Regions from separate parts of the Homo sapiens genome. Here all the other regions are linked to region 1. Evidence: promoter capture Hi-C in 16 types of primary human blood cells and fetal thymus (Javierre and others, 2016). All regions are on one chromosome and are shown on one strand. Each heading gives the region's core, a stretch centred on a gene start or on the middle of the fragment in contact. The rest is flanking DNA. Distances are from core to core; before and after follow the strand shown.

The links. The method cuts DNA at HindIII sites, captures the fragments that hold promoters and counts their contacts. A CHiCAGO score of 5 or more calls a contact.
Region 2: a contact is called between a fragment that was not itself captured here and the fragment with the promoter of FCRL6 in region 1, in 6 of 17 cell types (endothelial precursors, M2 macrophages, M1 macrophages and 3 more). The highest score is 13.2, in endothelial precursors.
Region 3: a contact is called between a fragment that was not itself captured here and the fragment with the promoter of FCRL6 in region 1, in 4 of 17 cell types (endothelial precursors, megakaryocytes, M2 macrophages and 1 more). The highest score is 15.2, in endothelial precursors.
Region 4: a contact is called between a fragment that was not itself captured here and the fragment with the promoter of FCRL6 in region 1, in 5 of 17 cell types (endothelial precursors, megakaryocytes, M2 macrophages and 2 more). The highest score is 15.9, in endothelial precursors.
Region 5: a fragment that was not itself captured here is called in contact with the fragment with the promoter of FCRL6 in region 1 in 6 of 17 cell types (megakaryocytes, endothelial precursors, M2 macrophages and 3 more); the score reaches 19.7 in megakaryocytes.
Region 6: a fragment that was not itself captured here is called in contact with the fragment with the promoter of FCRL6 in region 1 in 1 of 17 cell types (M2 macrophages); the score reaches 5.3 in M2 macrophages.

What each region holds. Positions count from the first base shown.
Region 1 is chr1:159,800,742-159,803,972 of GRCh38, forward strand. It overlaps FCRL6 (Fc receptor like 6), which reads left to right and starts at 1,619. Exons shown (of 10, transcript NM_001004310.3): 1 at 1,619-1,714. The coding sequence starts at 1,684. It overlaps LOC105371464 (a long non-coding RNA gene), which reads right to left. Exons shown (of 3, transcript XR_922195.2): 1 at 1,797-3,231; 2 at 1,207-1,406. The HindIII fragment of the contact is 5,270 bases long and covers 1-3,231 here.
Region 2 is chr1:159,126,446-159,129,676 of GRCh38, forward strand. It overlaps a transcript of AIM2 not described here. Among named protein-coding and RNA genes, the nearest start is that of TRR-TCT4-1, 14 kb to the right of the region's middle. The HindIII fragment of the contact is 2,642 bases long and covers 138-2,779 here.
Region 3 is chr1:159,155,843-159,159,073 of GRCh38, forward strand. No RefSeq gene overlaps it. Among named protein-coding and RNA genes, the nearest start is that of CADM3, 14 kb to the right of the region's middle. The HindIII fragment of the contact is 1,450 bases long and covers 770-2,219 here.
Region 4 is chr1:159,196,782-159,200,012 of GRCh38, forward strand. CADM3 (cell adhesion molecule 3) reads left to right here. Exons shown (of 9, transcript NM_001127173.3): 7 at 110-279; 8 at 2,970-3,095. It overlaps CADM3-AS1 (CADM3 antisense RNA 1), which reads right to left. Exons shown (of 4, transcript NR_037870.1): 3 at 3,005-3,078; 4 at 1-1,440. Among named protein-coding and RNA genes, the nearest start is that of CADM3-AS1, 4.0 kb to the right of the region's middle. The HindIII fragment of the contact is 1,953 bases long and covers 756-2,708 here.
Region 5 is chr1:159,219,507-159,222,737 of GRCh38, forward strand. No RefSeq gene overlaps it. Among named protein-coding and RNA genes, the nearest start is that of ACKR1, 16 kb to the left of the region's middle. The HindIII fragment of the contact is 1,437 bases long and covers 1,057-2,493 here.
Region 6 is chr1:159,277,434-159,280,664 of GRCh38, forward strand. It overlaps the pseudogene OR10J2P. Among named protein-coding and RNA genes, the nearest start is that of FCER1A, 23 kb to the right of the region's middle. The HindIII fragment of the contact is 1,372 bases long and covers 1,094-2,465 here.

The DNA of each region.
Region 1 (3,231 bases), core at 369-2,868:
AATCTAGGGCAAGAAAACTTAGAAAATTCTCTCTGTCCATTCCTGGCCTCAGCAATAGGCACATCAAATTCCATCAGACTATGTAGAACTTCTCACTTAAAGATTTCCAGGAAGAACTTTACTGTCAGAAAATGCTTAGCCAGGCATGGTGGTGCATGCCTGTAATCCCAGCTACATGGGAGGCTGAGGCAGGAAAATCACTTGAACCTGGGAGGCGGAGGTTGCAGTGAGCCAAGATTACACTCCAGCCTGGGCAACAGAGCAAGACTCCTTCTCAATAAAAAAAAGAAAAAAGAAAGAAAAGAAACAAGAAAATGAAAATGCTTCCTAGTATTTTGCCTGACTCTGTGTTTCACCGTGAACTCCCATGTTCTGTCCACAGAGGAGATGAGAATGTGTGACCTCTTTTTCTGTTGAGGGAACATTGAATAATTTCCAGTTTTTATCTATTACAAATGATGCTGCTATGAGCACTCTTGTATATGTTTTTTCAGGCTTATATGTATACATTTCTGTTTGACATTTACCCAGGAGTGAAAATGCTGAGCCATCAGGGATCCCTGTGTTTAGTTTTGGTAGATTCTGCCAAGCCATTTTCTAGTGACTGTACCAATTTATATTCCCACTAGTGGTGTACAAGAGTTCTAGTTTCTTCACATCCTCACCAATACTCAGTAGAGGATTGCATGGGGAGGGTCACGGGCTCCCCCAGACCCAGCTCAGTCTCAGCTGGTATCACTCCCTTATTCTTATGGAAGGTGTAGTGGTATCTTATTATGGTTTAAATTTGCATTTCCACGGTGATTTATGATGTCTAGCTCCTTTTGCTATGTTGATTTGACACGTGGATATCTGCTTCTGTGAAGTACCTATCCAATTATTTTTGCCCATTTTTCTAGTATGTTGTCTGTCCTTTTCTTACTGACTTGCAGAAATTCTTATATTTCTTCTGTGGGCCCTTTGTCAGCTACATGTATTTAAACTATCTCATCACACCACAGCTTGCCTGTTCCTTCTCTTAATGGTGTCTTTTAAGGAATAGTTCTCAAAATCATACTGACAGTCTTAAAAGCCTCAGATGCCGAAGCTCCATCTGTGTTCTACTCCAGACTCATCGATGTCTGATTCCCTCCTGAACTGAGGATCCTGTGAAGCATCCTCAGGGCTCCACTTCTCCATCGCATTGCAGCATCCACACACATTTACCTCTGGAGACAGGAGCTCCTTGGAAGCTGGGAGGTCACTCGGTGGTCAAGGGGTAGATGATCTTAGTTTTACAGTGCTGCGCTGTCTCCCAGGCTGAATGACGCTGAAGCCAAGCAAATTCGGGCAGTCTCTGGACCTTTCTAATGGAGGTGTCCCATAACCATGTTCCATCCTAGTTCCCTGGCATAGGCTTGTTGAAGCTGCAGAAAATGTCAGGGATTTATTAGTGATTTACCGACTCCTTCATACTTAGTGTTCAGGAAAATTTATTCATGTAATACTTCTTCAACCAAAGAGGAAATATCAATTAGAGCTTTGTAAGTTTCTTTTCCACTTCCTATTTTGGCTATCAAGCTATAGCACCACCCAGCTCAGGCCACCCACCCACCTTCGGTCCTGAGGCCTGGTTGCTCTCTGCCGGCTTCGCCCTGACCTGTTTCTGACCTGTGTTCCCTCCGCTGTGCCAGAACAGGCCCCATGCTGCTCTGGACGGCTGTGCTGCTCTTTGGTAAGTCAACGAGCATGGGCATCCCCTCTTGGAGCACTAAGGACCGTAAGTCATCCCTGAGACACCAAGTTCCTCATCTTACCTTTCCCAATTCCAGTGGGTTTGTGGCTGGAGCTCAAGACAGGTGTGTGCACCTGGGCATGCTTGGGAGAGATGGGCACTGGGGTAGGAGAAACTCCTCAGTGTTTCCTACCCCGTAGTCCTGGGTCCTTGGCAGCGCAGCCCTTTGATATGTCAGAGATAAATTAGGGAGGCAGAAAATCACATTACAAAGTCCCCTAACTTCCCAATGACATTTCTACCTTGTGACATCAGGTTAAAATACTAATCAGAGCTGTCTCAAAAGGAAATGGAGGTTGCAGGAGGGAAGGAGGCTGCTGGGGGCAACAGGGAAGGAGTCAGGGAAATGAGGGGAAACAGTCCCAGGCATTTTGCTCAGCAATGGGAGGTGGAATTTTACAGGGTGACATATTTTTATGGAGCCTCAGCATTTTCTTAGAACCAGGTAACAATGGCCAGACCTCTCACCTGGTTGAAAGGCCTGTGCTCTGAGTAACCAAAGCCCTTTTCAAATTGACTGTCTCTCTTCCGCCTACATCTTCTCTCTGTTGGGAGCTGTTTCAGATCCATGGGGCTGGTTTGAAGAATCAACTCCATTGTCTGATCCATGTCTCTCTCTCTCTTCTCTCCATTTCTTCTCATGCAGGCTACTTGTAACTAAGAGAGCTGGTCTAAGGGTAGAGGATTGCACGCAGAGGGTCACTGGGCTCCCCCAGACCCAGCTCAGTCTCAGCCAGTGTCACCCCCCTTATACCTAAAAGAAATAATTTGGCATATATTTTGTTTCACTTTACAGTTTCCAAGTGGACCTACTTTTTGTTTAATTCTTGGTCCCAATAGCTTGCTTGCTATTTGTATTCCTTGAACTAGAAAAGCAAAACTGTTCCTAAATATAACCTCTTCCTGGACAGAGTTTGTGAGAATTTGACCCTGTGAGGAAAATGCCCCTTCCACTCAATGTTCCTTCTCCAGCATAGCATGCTACTCGTGTGTTCTATGAATGGCCATTTGGACAAATGAAAAGGTCTAATGCTCACACTGAGGCGGGGACAGGATAGCCTAATGCCTGGATATACTCCAGGCAGAAGACTCCCAGGGGCAAATGGCACTACCGGCACTACCTTGTAAAAGGAACAGCCCTTGGACTTGTCTAGATACAGTCTGAGAGTGTTCCAGCTTGGAACCCAGGACGAGGATGACAGACAGCAAATGAGGAGAGGAAGGGAATCAGTGACCGGCTGACTGGTGCACAGTGTAATGGAGAATCCAGCACCAGCAAATTTGGTCCCACTTGATGCTCAGGGACCCTGGAAAAACAGCCTAAAACACAGACACTGGGGCTGGGTGTGTAGCAACATTTATCTTACCATAAGTGTAGAGCTGCTATTTCCTCTCTCAAGAGCAGGGTGTGGTCATAATAAATTGGTGGCTATTACTATTATTGGCTGTCAGGGCTC
Region 2 (3,231 bases), core at 209-2,708, 670 kb before region 1:
GACCATCCTGGCTAACACGGTGAAACCCTGTCTCTACTAAAAATACAAAAAAAATTAGCTGGGTATGGTGGCGGGTGCCTGTAGTCCCAGCTACTCGAGAGGCTGAGGCAGGAGAATGGCGTGAACCTGGGAGGCGAAGCTTGCAGTGAGCCGAAATGGCACCACTGCACTCCAGCCTGGGTGACAGAGCGAGACTACGTCTCAAAAAAAAAAAAAAAAAAATTGATAGAATTACTTTGGAAAGCAAGAAAGCATACCCTGGTGAAACCGAACAGGAATATAAACTATGACTCAGCAATCCAATTCCCAAGTGTATAATCTGAAATTGCTTGCTCTAGGAGATATAAGATTATTCCAACAGCATTGTTTATAATAGACAAAAAACCTGGAAAAAAACTGCATGTCCATCAAAGGCAGAATGCATTAATACATTGTGTTATACTCACACCATGGAGCATTATCCATTAATGAACATAAACTGTTGTATATTCAAGAACATGGACAAACCTCAAAACACAATGGTAAAGGGGCCAAAAACAACTCATATAAGAATATGTTTCCACTTACATAAAGTTTAAAAAGCAAAACAAAGTAATATATTATTTGGGGATAGCTATATGTGAAATAAAACTATAAACAAGCCAGGGGATGATTGGTTACCTACCCCTAGGGACTGAGAAAGAATGCAATTGATGAGGTTCACCCGAGAGTCTTCAAAGAACTAGTGATGTTCTCATTTTAAGCTGACTGGTAGGATCCTGAGTGTTTATTTTATTATTGTGATTATACTTTCTAAATGGTTCATATACATTCCATATACCCTAGGGTATGTATAATTTATTTCACAATAAAAAATTAATGTAACCCAAATGTGCACGGGGCCCTTAGGGTCGCCTCTGCTCTCACGCCACACTATCTTGAGTCAAGTAACAGATCAGTGTCGGCCCTGACTAGTGTTATGGTCTGAATGTCTGTGTCCCCACAAAATTCCTATGTTGAAATCCCAATCCCAATGTGATGGCATGGGGCCATTGGGAGGCAAAGTCTCTGGTATTATCAGTAATGAAAACACAATCTAAAATGGATAGTATCACTTTGGGAAGCAAGAAAGAATACCTTGGTGAAGCTGATCAGAAATGTAATCTATGACGCAGCAAAACTATTCCCTGTTGGGATCCTTAATGGGATCCCTAATGGGATTTCATAAGTGCTCTTATGAAAGAGGGACAAGGAAGTTTGTTCCTTGTTTCCACCACATGAGGACATAGCCATCTATGGGTCAGCAAGTGGGCCCTCACCACACACTGTATCTGCCTTGACCTTGGACTTCCCAAGGCTGGATTTCTCATAGCCTCCAGAACTGTGAGAAATAAATTTCTGTTGTTTATAAACCACCAGGTCTGTGGCACTTTGTTGTAGCAGCCCTTTCCCTGGAGTATTCATCTCCCTACTTCTCATGTCACCAACTGAAAGTGCCTTCTTTTTCATCTTAACCAAAGTTAGTCTGCCCATCAGTCTCTGCTGCAATCTCTTAATCTGTTCCCTTCATAACAAACTCATTACAAACTGCAACAACTTTGTTTACTTGTTTCTGTTTCTTTTCTTTTTGTCAGTCTCTCCTAGTAGAACACATGCCTCTGGAGAGTCAGGACTTTGTATGTCTTGTTTATTGCAACCTCCCCATCTCTCAGCACAGTGCTTAGTATAAAATAGTTGCCAGATATGGTGATAGGAGTGTGATAATAAAAAATGTATCATAAACCCACAATAAAATAATTGCTTTGTTATAAATTGTCATCTTATGTGCCAAGGCTTACACACACACACACACACACACACACACACCACCCCAAGCCCTGCCATTTTTCTGCATGACTCTGGGGTTACACGAGTGGCCTGTCCAGAATCCCGTCCTCTCTTTCCTTTGAGTTTTCTATCTCCATTAAACTTCTATTTGCCTTTACTGCAACCACTAATCCAGATTTTTTTGTGTGTTTAAAGTAATAAATATTCTGTACTTGGAGAATGGCCTAGTATCGTTATAGCGAGTTCACTCAGTTACTCCCACTCTTTTGACTGCTTTTGACCAAGCCAGTAGTCCTCTATCCGACTTCTTCACCTCTATGGCCTTCCATGGAAAGCCACTTGCCAGTATCCTAACCCCCTCTGCCTTTGTCCTTCCTTCCCTCCCACACCCCCTCTTTCCAGGATCTAGATACTTTAACTCTCAGCTTCCTCAGTGTTTGCACCCGGGCTGCTAATCATTGCTAGGGAAAATCACACAACTATAAATTCATGACAATAAACTTCATCTGGTTCTCCACACTGCTCCACAAACTACATTTCCTAGTCAGCTCACTCTTCATATTTTAATAATGATACTTCAAGATTTCTTCACTCCCCTTATATGTTTGATCCCTCTACATTGGGACACATTCTCAGCAAATAACCCACATTGTTACCTCACAGAAATTATCAAGTCCACTTGTCAGAAACTCATCCAATCTCCTAACTGCAGTGGATTGAACAGTGGACCCCAAAAAGACATGCCCAGGTTTTAACATTTAAAACCTATGAATGTGACCTCATTTGTAAAAAGCATCTTGCAGATGTAATTAATGTAAGGATCTTGAGATGAGATCATTGTAGATTTAGGGCGGGCCTGGAATCCAATGGCAGGCATCCTTACAGAGAAATGCAGAGAGAGATCTGAGACACAGAAAAGATGGCCAGGTAAAGACAGAGGCAGAGTTTGGAAGTATGCAGACCCAAGCTAAGAAGCTTGTTCAGAGGAGTGAAAATCTGCTTACATCTTGACCTTGATTTTGGACTTCTGGGTTCCAAAACTTTGACAGAATAAATCTCTGTAATTTCTGAGGCACCCAGTTTGGGGAAATTTGTTATGGCATCTCTAGAAAATTCATGATGCTAACTAAGCTGACAACTGCATTTGTACCTGCTCTATCCACCTTCTCTTCAGTTACAGTACTAAGGGTTGAGTCTACAGCCAGGTTGTGAACCCAACAATAGGACACTGTGGTTAATGGTGCAAGTCTCAAGCTAGATTGACTGGGTATCAATGCTGTCTCCACCACTTACTATGTGATGTTGGTTACTCAGAGTACCATTCTATGCCTCAGTTTCCTTATCTCAAAAAAACAGGATAACAATAAAAAGTACCTCTGTAGGAGAGGCTGTGTAGGAATTAAATGGAATCATGCCCTCAGAACA
Region 3 (3,231 bases), core at 245-2,744, 650 kb before region 1:
ATTTTCACGATATTGATTCTTCCTATCCATGAGCAAGGAATGTTTTTACATTTGTTTGTGTCCTCTTTTATTTCCTTGAGCAGTGCTTTGCAGTTCTCCTTGAAGAGGTCCTTCACATCCCTTGTAAGTTGGATTCCTAGGTATTTTATTCTCTTTGAAGCAATTGTGAATGGGAGTTCACTCATGTTTTGGCTCTCTGTCTGTTATTGGTGGAGAATAGGAATGCTTATGATTTTTGCACATTGATTTTGTATCCTGAGACTTTGCTGAAGTTGCTTATCAGCTTAAGAGTTTTGGGGCTGAGAAGATGGGGTTTTCTAAGTATACAATCTTGTCATCTGCAAACAGGGACAATTTGACTTCCTCTTTTCCTAATTGAATACCCTTTATTTCCTTCTCCTGCCTGATTGCCCTGGCCAGAACTTCCAATACAATGTTGAATAGGAGTGATGAGAGAGGGCATCCTTGTCTGGTGCCAGTTTTATAAGGGAATGCTTCCAGTTTTTGCCCATTCAGTATGATATTGGCTGTGGGTTTGTCATAAATAGCTCTTATTATTTTGAGATACCTTCCATCAATACCTAGTTTATTGAGAGTTTTTAGCTTGAAGGGGTGTTGAATTTTGTCAAAGGCCTTCTCTGCATCTATTGAGATAATCATGTGGTTTTTGTCGTTGGATCTGTTCATGTGATGGATTACGTTTATTGATTTGTGTATGTTGAACCAGCCTTGCATCCCAGGGATGAAGCTGACTTGATCATGGTGGGTAAGCTTTTTGATGTGCTGCTGGATTTGGATTGCCAGTATTTTATTGAGGATTTTCACATCAATGTTCATCAGGGATATTGGTCTAAAATTCTCTTTTTTTGTTGTGTTTCTGCCAGGCTTTGGTATCAGGATGATGCAGCCAGGACTATTTGATATGTTAATAATCCCTCACTTGTCTACGTGTAACCATCCCTGCTGCCTTTCTGCCAATCAGCTACACCACCAACAGAGCAATTATAATTTTTCTTGAAGGCAAAACCCCTTAAAGTTCTCTCTTGTCTAAAGAAGAGACTAAAAGCCATCTGTGATCTGATTCCCGTCCATTTTTGCAACATCAGTTACTATTATCCCCCAGCCTCCCCTCTCAGCTTACATTTTACAATAAGTACTTAGAGTTCTCAAAATGAAAAAAAAAAGGTTCGTTTTCCATACTAATATGACTTGGTATGCTGCAATGGTTTCTCTTTTTGGAATGCCTTTCTCCTGTCTCCACCCTCACATCTGTCTGGAAGACTGTTCCTCCTCTTTGAAGACTCAGTTTCAATCACCTCATTTTTTATAATATCTTCCCTGACATCCACCACAACCCCAAGCAGACTGGATCACACCCATCTTCACACCATTACTGCACCCTGTGCATATGGCTATCGGAGGACTGAGCACTCTGTAACGTACTCAATTTTGTGAATCTCTGTTCCTACCAGAGAGAGAGAAACTTGAGTTTTTTTACCCTTGATAGTCTGGGCAGTGCCTGGCACATGGTAGTTGTTCAATGTATGTTTACCAAAGAAAAAGAATCAACAATCAAAACCACTAGAACAGGTCTTTGTCCTCCTAGACACATATCATCCTATAATACCACAGTTCTTGATTTTTGTAATGCAAGTATTAGATGGGAACTCTTAAAATGACACTGAGAACTTTAGGCTTCTTCTGCTGGTCTACTTCAAAGTGGTAGAACGTTCAACTTTCTCCAGAGCTCCAGTTTTCATATCCAGTCTATTCAATATTTCCTACTTGATGGGTTGCCCTCAGCTTAAACTCAATGTAATCTAACAAAATTGTTACAAATTGATTATGTCTCCTGCAAATTTAGATGTTAACACTCTAATCCCTCATGTATTTAGATGTGAGTCCTATGAGAGGTGATTTGGTCATGAAGGTGGAACTCTAATAAATGGAATTAGTGTCATTATAAGAAGAGACACAGGGAGACAATCTCTTTTTCCACCATGTGAAGACACATTGAGAAGGTGGCTGTCTGCAAACCACGAAGAGGACACTCAACAGGAATCAAATCCACCAGTACCTTGATCTTGGACTTCCCAGCCTCCAGAACTGTGAGAAACCAAAGTCTGTTGTTTAAGCCACATAGTTTATGGTATTCTGTTTTAGCAGCCTCAAGTAAGACACTAATCCTCCTTCATTCCAAAATACTAAACCCCACAAAAAGCTTCTCCTAATTCCACTATTTCTTTTCATGGTTCAGCATTTTCCAAGTCACTCAAAAGCCAAAACTGAGAGCTGCCTCAGCCTTCTCCCTCTGTCTTGCTTCCCATAACCAACACCAAACGTAGCACCTCTTTTCCATTCCCAATTCCACTGCCCTTGCTCAGGACTCTTTTACTTTGTTCCTGGATTTCTATAATCATCTTTTAACTCATATTCTTAGAATAAGCATTTAATTTAAAAAAAATTAATCATTCAATACATAGGCACACATTATAAAAATATGAAGTATATAATATGGACAATTATAGTCCCCCTTATGACTTAAGTCTCACTCCTGGCCCAGAAAATAATTTTCCAAGTTTAATATGCATCTGAACAATAGAAACACTCAAGTGCCTACTATGTGCCAGGCGCTATTTAAAGCAATTTAAATAGATTAATTTATTTAATTTTCACATCATACCACCCTAGGGGTCATGTAAAATTATCTCTATTTTCCACACAATGAAAAAAAATGCTGAGGCGGTTAAGTATCTTGCCTGAAGTCACACAGCCAGTAAGTAACTATTCATTTACTTAAACACATATTTATATGCATATAAGATTTTACATACACATATGTATATGTTTTATGCTTTTTTCCCATTTTACACAAAAGGGATAGCAGTATGTGTATTTTCTTTGTATTTTCACTGAACAACATACCTTCTGTATCTTTCTATGTTGGTAGATATAAATTTACCTCATTCTTTTTAACTGCAATGTGTTATTACAAAGTATGATATAGCATAATCTATTTATCCAATTCACTATTGATGAATATTTATGTTGTCTTCAATTTTTCACTACTGGAAAAAAATGATGTGATGCATATCTCTGCACATAAATCAGAGCACTCATGTGTGAACAGATCTATAGCATAATTTGTAGAAATAGCACTGCTGGTATTTCTATTTTTAATTCTGATGCATTCTGCCAAAATATCTCCAAAAAGGCTGTGCCAATTTACAT
Region 4 (3,231 bases), core at 482-2,981, 600 kb before region 1:
CAGCCTCATCAAACAGTCCTTGACATCCCTGCTCCCAGTTATTTTTTTTTTTCTTTTAGCTCCCTGGCCTATGCTCTCCTGAGCTCTTCTGATTTGTCTGCCTCGACAGCCCCCAGCAGTACCTATGGGAGAAGGAGGGCAGTGTGCCACCCCTGAAGATGACCCAGGAGAGTGCCCTGATCTTCCCTTTCCTCAACAAGAGTGACAGTGGCACCTACGGCTGCACAGCCACCAGCAACATGGGCAGCTACAAGGCCTACTACACCCTCAATGTTAATGGTAAGCCCTCCTCAGTTCTCTTCCTCCAGAATCTCCTTTCTCTGTCCATCTTATTCCCTTTTTTAAAATGCTTCCTGATAACATCCCCAAACTGTGACGGGGAGTGGAGTAAAGGAAAACCAGCCCACCACTGGGGTCCCTGAGGGCTTAGGTCCCAGGTCCACTCTAGAATGTGTAATGGCCGCTTAGTGAAAAAACATTAGAAGGGTGGGCTCTCATCTGCCTTTCTTTGGTAGTGGTGGCCTGGGTGACACCATCTTCCATCCCCTGCACTTGTCTGACAACAAGAACAATAATTCTGTGTGCAGAGGCCCCAAAGCCTCTCAAGTGCAGGCGCAGGTGCATTTCCTTCTCTAACTGGCTCTTCTCAGAGTTGCTTCTCCTAAGACTAGGTATTGGGTGCATGCAACTGCTGTCATTTTTTTTTCTGCCCACCTTAAGCACAGTGTACTGGGTCTGGACAGAAAATAGAGAGAAGCTTGTACTATGCCAAGAGACAGAATCTTTTCTCAGATGCCATATCTTCTAGAAGGACCAGGTGATGCTCCTTCTCTGAAGTTCTTCTCAAAGCTGTGACCACAAAACCCAGCTTCAGGAGTAGTGACAGGGTGACACAGAGGCCCCTTTATGGAGAGTTGACGGGCGATTTTTTTGAAGATCCCAATGGCTGTGGGTCCCGCCAGAAAGTCTTATCTTTTCTCAGAATAGGGGAAATGCATTGTCGGGGAAACATCAGAGGCTCCCTTACTTGAGACACTCATTAAAACAGTTGAGGGGATAAGAGCCAGGCCTCCCAGCGATAAGAGGTCTGAGTTCTTGGGATCAGAATGTCTGGATGGGTGATTCCCACTCCAGGGGCAGACCTCAGCATGTGGGAGCTGCCTCAGCACAACAAGGCTATTGTAGGATGCCAAGAGCAAGGACAATGCACTGAGCTCCGGTCTCTGCCCCCAGATCTCTCCAGACCAATCTGATGATGATTGGCAGTGAGAGAAAGTTCTTGTGCCCTTGTGGTTGGTATCTTGCTGATCTCCCCTCTGCTTTGTGCTCAACAGCCAGGCAGAGGGAGTCCTGTTGGACTGCGTCTGTTTCCAGTGCTGACGCCTGGTGGTAGAAGGAGCTACTGCATCTTCTTCCAGGAATATCCTTAAGTGGGCGGGACTGGAACGAAATTAAATGCAGTTCTACCTAGAGACAGGGGCCTGTAATTGATGACCCCAGAGGTCGTTTGGCCATGGAAACCTGTGCTTTTCTAAGGAACTGCCATTTCCATAGCCTGTGGAATAAGTATCCAGGATTGATTTTCCATGTGGACTGTCTCGCATACTCCCTGAGAGAGAGACAGCAGGTAACTCACTCTGCTTCCTCCAAGTTACACCATCACCTCCACCCCAATCATATCATAGATTTCCTGGACTCATCCTCTCCCTTCCTCCCAAGCAGGGCATAAAAAACCAGAACACAAATGTTTTCTTTTCAAATAAGGTGTAGACAGGCAAGGAACTGAAACGCGGGCCCAGCCAAGCCTGAGGAGACATAAGGTAGGAAAGACAAAATATGTAAGGAGTCAATGAGGCATTAAGACTCAAGCTGAGTCCATGGAAAACAGCAGCTCTCCCATGGGTGGGAGAGTTATGTCTATGGCTACATCAGAACCGTGTGCTGGGCCCGTGCGAGTCCTCAGATATTTGGGACTCTGGCTGTGGCTGCTGATGTCTTTGCCACACCCGGCCCAGTCTGTGCTGTTGATCCTCTATACAGGTTGTCAATCCTCTACATAGGTTGCCAATCCTCTACCTAGGTTGCCATGGAGGACAGATGCTATATATTCAGTGGCAGAGACATCCACTAGCATGAGAGAAAGCATCTTTTCCTTTGCACAAACACTTTGAGGGTGGCAAAGTGAAGACGGAGTCCCAGGCCTCCTCCTTGGGAAAGACTAGAGGCTTGGGGTTTCACTGGAACACTAAACTCACCTGCCACAAAGGAACAGTGTTCTTTACATAGATGATAGATTGTGGCCCCTTACATCTATCATCTTTCGTAAGGTGCTGTCAAAGTGCCTAATTCTTGGCTCTATCAGGTTTTACTGTTCCTTCCCTATCTGATCTTAGGGCAGTGGGTGAATAGGCTGAGAAGGCCCTTAGAGCTAGGGGAGCTGGCTCAGAATATCAAGCAGACAGGAGGGTAAGAGGGAATGGGGACAGAGAAGGAACACTCTGATAACCCAGAAATTAAAAAGAAAAAGAGGGAGAAAAGAAAGAAGGAAACAGGGCAGGAGGAGAGAGGAAAGAAGGAAGAGAGGCAGGAAGAAGGAAGGAAAAGAAGAGGCGGAGGGAGGGAGGAAGGAAGGAAGGAAGGAAGGAAGAAATGGAGGGAGGGAGGGAAGGAAGGAGAGGCATTAAAGCAATGATCTTTGACCAAGGCCAAGCTTCAGTGCCAAGAACTCAACTTAGATGACTAGGTATGGGCAGATTTATTTATTCATTAATCCATCAATTTGTTTTAACAAATACTATAATACAGGTGTGGCGTATAAGCACAAGATAAGGCATGATGAATGACACTGCTCCATTTTCCTGATGTTAGTACCTGTTCCCTGCTGTGTAAGACTATTCATGGCCAAGTTGGAATGCTATAAGATAAGGGCTCTCCCCAGATCTGACTGTGTGTGTTGCCCTTTCTTCCAGACCCCAGTCCGGTGCCCTCCTCCTCCAGCACCTACCACGCCATCATCGGTGGGATCGTGGCTTTCATTGTCTTCCTGCTGCTCATCATGCTCATCTTCCTTGGCCACTACTTGATCCGGCACAAAGGTCAGAGGCACAAAGAGAGCATCAGCAGAACTTGGGAGGGGCAGGGAGACCAATCAGAGGCAGGCACGAGGAGAAGCAGACAGTGGAAAGGGCCTTCAGAGACTTGTCAGCCCTTTGGAGTGTTTAGGGAATTAAA
Region 5 (3,231 bases), core at 525-3,024, 580 kb before region 1:
GCTATGTGCATGGAGAACAGAGGAAATAAAGAACAAGCCTGATCATTGCTGTTCTGCCTGGCGCTGAGAGGAGAGTCTCAGAAGCAACAGGACGTCAGGGTGTTCCTTCTTTGACTTATTAAGTCAGAGAAAAGACTCCCCTGGCTGATGATTCCTGTGAGTTTGAATACTGAGATAGCATATGAGTTAAATGAGAGAACTGTTTTACTAATCATAGATTCAAAATTCTCCTATATGAATTTGCTGACCAACTAATCAACAAATACCTTCTGTGTGCCTCAGCCAAGCTGAGTAGCTGAACTCTAGTAGGCATTCAGTAAACATCTTAATTTTTTTTTATTTATTATATTTTAAGTTTTAGGGTACAATGCAGTGTAGATATTGTACTGTTATTGTGGAATTCAGAAATGAAAAACATACAGACCTTGGTTTCTACGAACTCAGAGTCTATAAAAATTTTAATACTTGAAATATTTTATTAATATTAATAATATAATAGAAGGCATATAACACAGTTGTCTTAGTCTCTTCAGACTGCTATAACAAAATGCCATAGGCCGGGTGGCTTATGAACAACAAACATCCATTTCTCACAGTTCTCCATGCTGGAAAGTCCTAGATCAAAGTGCTGGCAGATTCGGCATCCGGTGAGGTCCAGTTTCCTGGTTCTTAGACAGTTGCCTTCTTTCATGTCCTCATGTGGCAGAAGGGACAAGGGGAGTCTCTGGGGTCTCTTTTATAATGGCACTTAAGCCTTCATGACCTAATCTTGCTCCAAAGGCCCCACCTCCTAACCATTATATTGGGGGTTAGGATTTCAACATATGAATTTTGATGGGACACAAACATTCGCTCTTACAGCAGTCGTTAAAAGTAGAGGCACTGAAGTTAGATATCAAAGTTCAATTCAGCTGTGCAACCTGAGACAAGTCACAGAACTTCTCTGAGTCTTAGTTTCCAATGAAAGTAGACCAGCAGTATCTTTTACATTGGGTTATTTGGAGCATTAAATTGACTGACATGTACAGAACTTAACACATTGCTTGGCACTGAGTAAGCTTTCAAGATGTTAGCTAAAATTTAAGAAAGGCATAATTAAGTACCAAAATACATGATTTAAAGTCGTACTATTTTTAAAATTAGAAAGAACCTTAAAAACTCTCTAATCCAATGTTTCCCAAATAATGGTCTGTGGATTGTTGCCAATTTGTGACTTTTTTTTTTTTTTTTTAACCAGTCTGTAGCAAAATGGAATACAGAAAGGCAGTGTGGCAGTAAGCTGTTCTTTCCTTGCTGTTCAGTTTCTTTTTTTTTCAGTGAGCTGACAAAAGGTAGGTGGTAAAATTGTTAATCCCATGTAAGTTCTCCATTTATTATTGTTGTTGTTTTGTTCATGAAATGTAGAAGTCTGAGAACCACTGCTCTAATAGACTAAATTTCCCATCAGTGGAATAACTTTATGTGTCATCCTGTTGGCTCCATTTGAACAGGGTCAGGGTGCTGAAAAGTTATTTATACTTTAGAGCTCAGATAGAGCTAAGAGGACAATCTAACCCCTCTTCTACATGATTGTCTTTCAGATCTTTGAAGACAGCAACAATAAGGGAGCTTGGTTATAGTGAGCAGAGCCTTTGGCTTAAACTCAGTTCCAGTTCTGCTACCATCTTGATTTCCTCCTCTGAACTTTTGTTAAATGGGCTAGGAGTATTTACTGGTGAAGAATGTTGTTGGGATCAAGGAAAATAATGCCTGTGAAAGCACTTTGTAAATAGTGAATTACCATTCAAATGTTATACCTATGGTTTTATTGTTCTTGTTGTTGTTGCTCGAGTTGGAGTTTTGCTCTTGTTGCCCGGGCTAGAGTGCAATGGCACGACTTTGGCTCACTGAAGCCTCCCCTCCTGGGTTGGAGCGATTCTCCTGCCTCAGCCTCCAGAGTAGCTGGGATTACAGGCGTCTGCTGCCACTCCCGGCTCATTTTTTTTTTCTTTGGTATTTTTAGTAGAGACGGGGTTTCACCATGTTGGCCAGGCTGGTCTCGAACTCCTGACCTCAGGTGATCCACCCACTTCAGCCTCCCAAAGTGCTGGGATTACAGGCATGAGCCACCGCACCTGACCTACACCTATAGTGATAAGACAGCCCCATTTCCACCAAGAGATCTCCACACAGCACAGTACCTATTGTTTACCATTGGTTTTTACTTCTCTGGACATGGGTGGAGTAATGATTAGTCAATACTCTCCACAAAACGTGATACCCAGAACTGAGCATAAACTTCAGATCTAGTTGGTAACATGGAGTAAAATGGGACAAAGCGCTGGCCTGCGTGGTCTTTAGGGTCTTGGCTTCCATGATATTTCCCTTTTATACCTTCTGACCTGAGCTCTCTACTTTTATGCTACAATCACAGCACAAATGTGTCTTATTTCCCTTTGGGCCAGTTAATATCTTCAAAATCCTAAAACCACTAATATTTTAGAGCAAACTGGAAGCTTTGCCTTCTTAATTTGGCTTAAAGACTACAATATTTAATCTACCTTTTCCAACTTAAAAACCTCTCTGGAGAACATGGCAAGAATTTAAGAGTTTATTAGGGTTGCTTTTTCTTTGCCATGTTTCCATTTTATCACCTCCATTTTATTCTATCATTTCTTCTTCCTTTTACATGGAATATCCCCTTTGAAAGCTATTTGAAACTATATTTTGCCAAAGCCCTATGCATTCTGCTCTGACTTGCCATACAATGTCCTGAGGAGTATTGCGAAATCGATAGAAGGAGAGCATAGAGGTTAAGAGTGTCAACTCTTGGACCAGCTTATTTAGATTAAAATCCCAACTCTGCTACTTATTGGGTTTTTGGCCTTGGGTCAGTAACTTAACCACTTTGTTTCTTAGATCTTTCATCTATAACAAGAAGATAAATATGACATCGACTTTGTCATGCTCTTCTGAGGAATCAGTTTGTTAATATATGCAAAAGTGCTGAGCACAGTTCCTGGCACATAGTGAATCCTCAGTGTATCGTGAGCATTAGTCTTATTATTGTCCTTACAGGACCATGTGAAGTTTTGGATTTGTTCTGCTATGTTCTCCTCCTTATATCTTTTGTGCAAGCCTTTATTCAATCTGAGCTCATCAAAGAGCTCTTTATGAAGCCCCATGGGTTTTGTTAGCTGCTTTCTCCTTTTTTTTTTTATCAGGATGACTCATGATTATTTTATTTGAATT
Region 6 (3,231 bases), core at 530-3,029, 520 kb before region 1:
TCTATAAAACTGATGTGACTACTGGGAGAGGCTTTCAGAAGTGGGCTAATATAGTGAGCAGGAGCCCCAAAGAGGGAGTCTCAAAAGGGGTTTTCACAGGAGCAGGGTTGTGAGAGTATTTCCTTGGTACTCACTGCAAGCGGACTCAGAGGTCTCCTGGGAAAACACCTAGATAAAGGCAAAGATAAGCTGCCCTGGAGGTTTCTCATTATACCCACTCAGCTTGCTCTCCTGCAGGTAGTGCTCTGAAGGAGCAAATCTTTTACTGTTTCAGGCAATGTTTCATAAACATGAAGGTTTCCTTTCTTGGGCCTTCCACCTTTAGGGATTCCCAGATCCTTTATTTTACAGGCACTTTCAATACATTTTCAAAGGGGACACTTGGACAGTTTTGGTAGGTGACAGATACAGATTGATGTTTTTTAACCAGCCCTTTATGGACCGGAAGGCATATGGCAAGTTCTGTCTTTTTTTCTCCAGGCCGAATAAATCTAAAATCTTAATCCTTTCTCGCAAATCAAAATAACTTTCTCCTTTAGAAGACAATAAACTCCCAGACTCTTGTTTAGAACTGTATTTAAACTTAGAATTTAAACTAGGTACCCAACTATACACAGAAAATAAATTCATCCATGTAGAAATGAAAAGGGTTAAAGGCAAGGCATGGATTGCCTTGTAGCATGGATTTCCACGAAAAGGGTAAAGGCAAGACATGGACTTCCGTGTAGAAATGAAAAGGGTAAAGGCAAGGCATGGATCAGATTATGTTCTACACAGAGAAGAATGAAAATCATGGGCTAATTTCCAGATCTAAGTCAGCAAGCATTAGTTGGAAGGTGATAAAAATAAACTCAATTACAAAAAATCCTCAGATATCAGATATCCCTATATTTGTGAATTCAGTATAGCATGTGTTACTCCCACAGAAAGCATACATAAGCACAGTGAAATTCAGAGGTTGGATGTGACCATGTTGCTTACTAACACTGAACATACTGGTAACAGAGTCTCACCGAGGAAATAGTTCTAATGTGAGCCTCAACAAAATTGGAAAACAATTTCATGGGTCTCCAAGGCAGATGAGAATGTTTAAAGCTTATAATATTTTTTCTGGAATGTCAAGATTTGCTACTCTTGTCAATGCTTAAAGTAGAAAGTGATGATAAGTGGGAAGGTAGTTTTGACTGTTTTCAAGACACCCTGTACACCAACCATGTCCTCTTTAAAGTTTTAGAGCTCAATATCTATATGACATTTAGGTTGACCTGTCAACCTAGTACTTCCAATAGGTGTTATGCCACCCACTTTTCTGCTTTCAACAAATGATAACAATCAGCTACTCCTTGCTTACGATTCCCTACAGCTTTGCCCCTGTGTGAGCAGCAACTGACCACTCCCCTGGTGGTAACCTGTGTGGTTAGTAGAAGGTATAGGAGAATGATGGTAAAAACAAAGTCAAATCATGGAGACTCTTGGTTCCTTAATGTCGCATTACCACCAAATTTTGCAACTCTCTTTGGTTAGAGGATGAATGATAGGATTCAATTTTCTCGAGCTTAAAAAAATACCCAGACTATGACTGACTATATGTCAAACTGATGAAGATTCTAGGCAAAAGGTTTTTTGCCAATAGCACGGTGAAGGGCATTCTTGACCTCCTTGTTCCTCAAAGTGTACACAACAGGATTAAGTAGTGGAGTAAAGACGGTGTATGTCACTGAAATTAGCTGGTCCTGATCCCTGGTGTTCTCTGACTTGGGCTTGAGGTAGGCAATGGAGGCACAGCCATAGTGGATGATAACCACAGTGAGGTGGGAGGCACAAGTTGCAAAAGCCTTTTTCCGGCCCTCAGGAGAGGTGACCTTGAGGATGGTAGAGATGATGAGGATGTAGGAGATGAAGACCAAACCCAGCGGCACCACAATAACCAGGGAACTAACAACAAAATTAATTAGGTCATGTAGAGTGGTATCAACACAGGAAAGTTTCATAACTGGGTGGATATCACAGAAATAATGGGCCACCTGTTTATCACAAAAAGGCAGCCTGAACACAGATGAAATCTGAACTATGGCCACAAGCAGCCCAACACTGCAGGACCCACATACCAGCTGGACACACACTTTCTTGTTCATGATGATCATGTACCTCAAAGGGTTACAGATGGCCACATAGCGATCATACCCCATTGCTGTGAGCAGAAAGCAGTTGTTGATGGCCAAGGTAATAAAAAAAACATCTGGGTGGCACAGCCACCCAAAGAGATAGGTTGGCTTAGACTTAAGAGACTGGAGAGCATCCGTGGTACAATGACTAATGTGTAGACAGTCTCTGAAGTGGAAAGCATACTAACAAAGAAGTACATGGGGGTGTGAAGGTGACGATCAATGCTGATAATTGTCACAATTATGACATTGCCAGCCAGGGTTAAAAGACACAAGGTAAGAAATACCACAAAGAGGGTAAGCTTGTGTTCATGAAAGCTGGAGAAACCCTGGAAAACAAACTCCCTTATCACTGTGTGGTTCTCTCTCTTCGTTGGATAAATAAACAGATTGAAAGTACAGAGACTTAGGTCAATTAGTCAGAAGACATCAGTGCCCAATGCTTTGAGCAGGTGAATCATCTAAGAAGATAATAAGGATTCTGTTCGTGGATGGATGCCAAGTTATTGGGGACGACTGTTCACCTATAGATATAGACAGAAAAACACGATAAGAAAACAATTTCATGCATGACAATGTGTGTGTGTGTGTATATATATATATATGGGACTAAATAGGGATGAAAAAATGGAAGAAAAGACACCGGGGTAAGTTTGAAAAAGATTTCTTGGTGACCTAGCACATAAGTGTTAGAGAAAAACTAGGCTAAAGAAATAGGAAATGCATAGTTAAATTTGAAAGGAATTTTCTTTTATATTACAGTTTCAGATTTTGTTTACCTAAAACAAATTTTTCAACCTCTTCCACTTTGTTTAAACCACAATTTCGATTGTCTCTTTAAAGATCTTTCTTTCTGGGTTGCCAAACAAGACAATGCTCTCTGCTCCAACATAACATAAGTGTTTACTTTCTCCCTGTTGCTCCTGTCTGCTTGTTTCACAAACTCTTTTCATAAGTCATCAAACAGCTTCAAACCTGACTGTCACCCCAGATTTTTTAAAACAAGAGATGTTCCTCTCTTTTTTCAATGCTTGACTTGAGTCTCCTCCTCCTCAGAAAGTCTTCT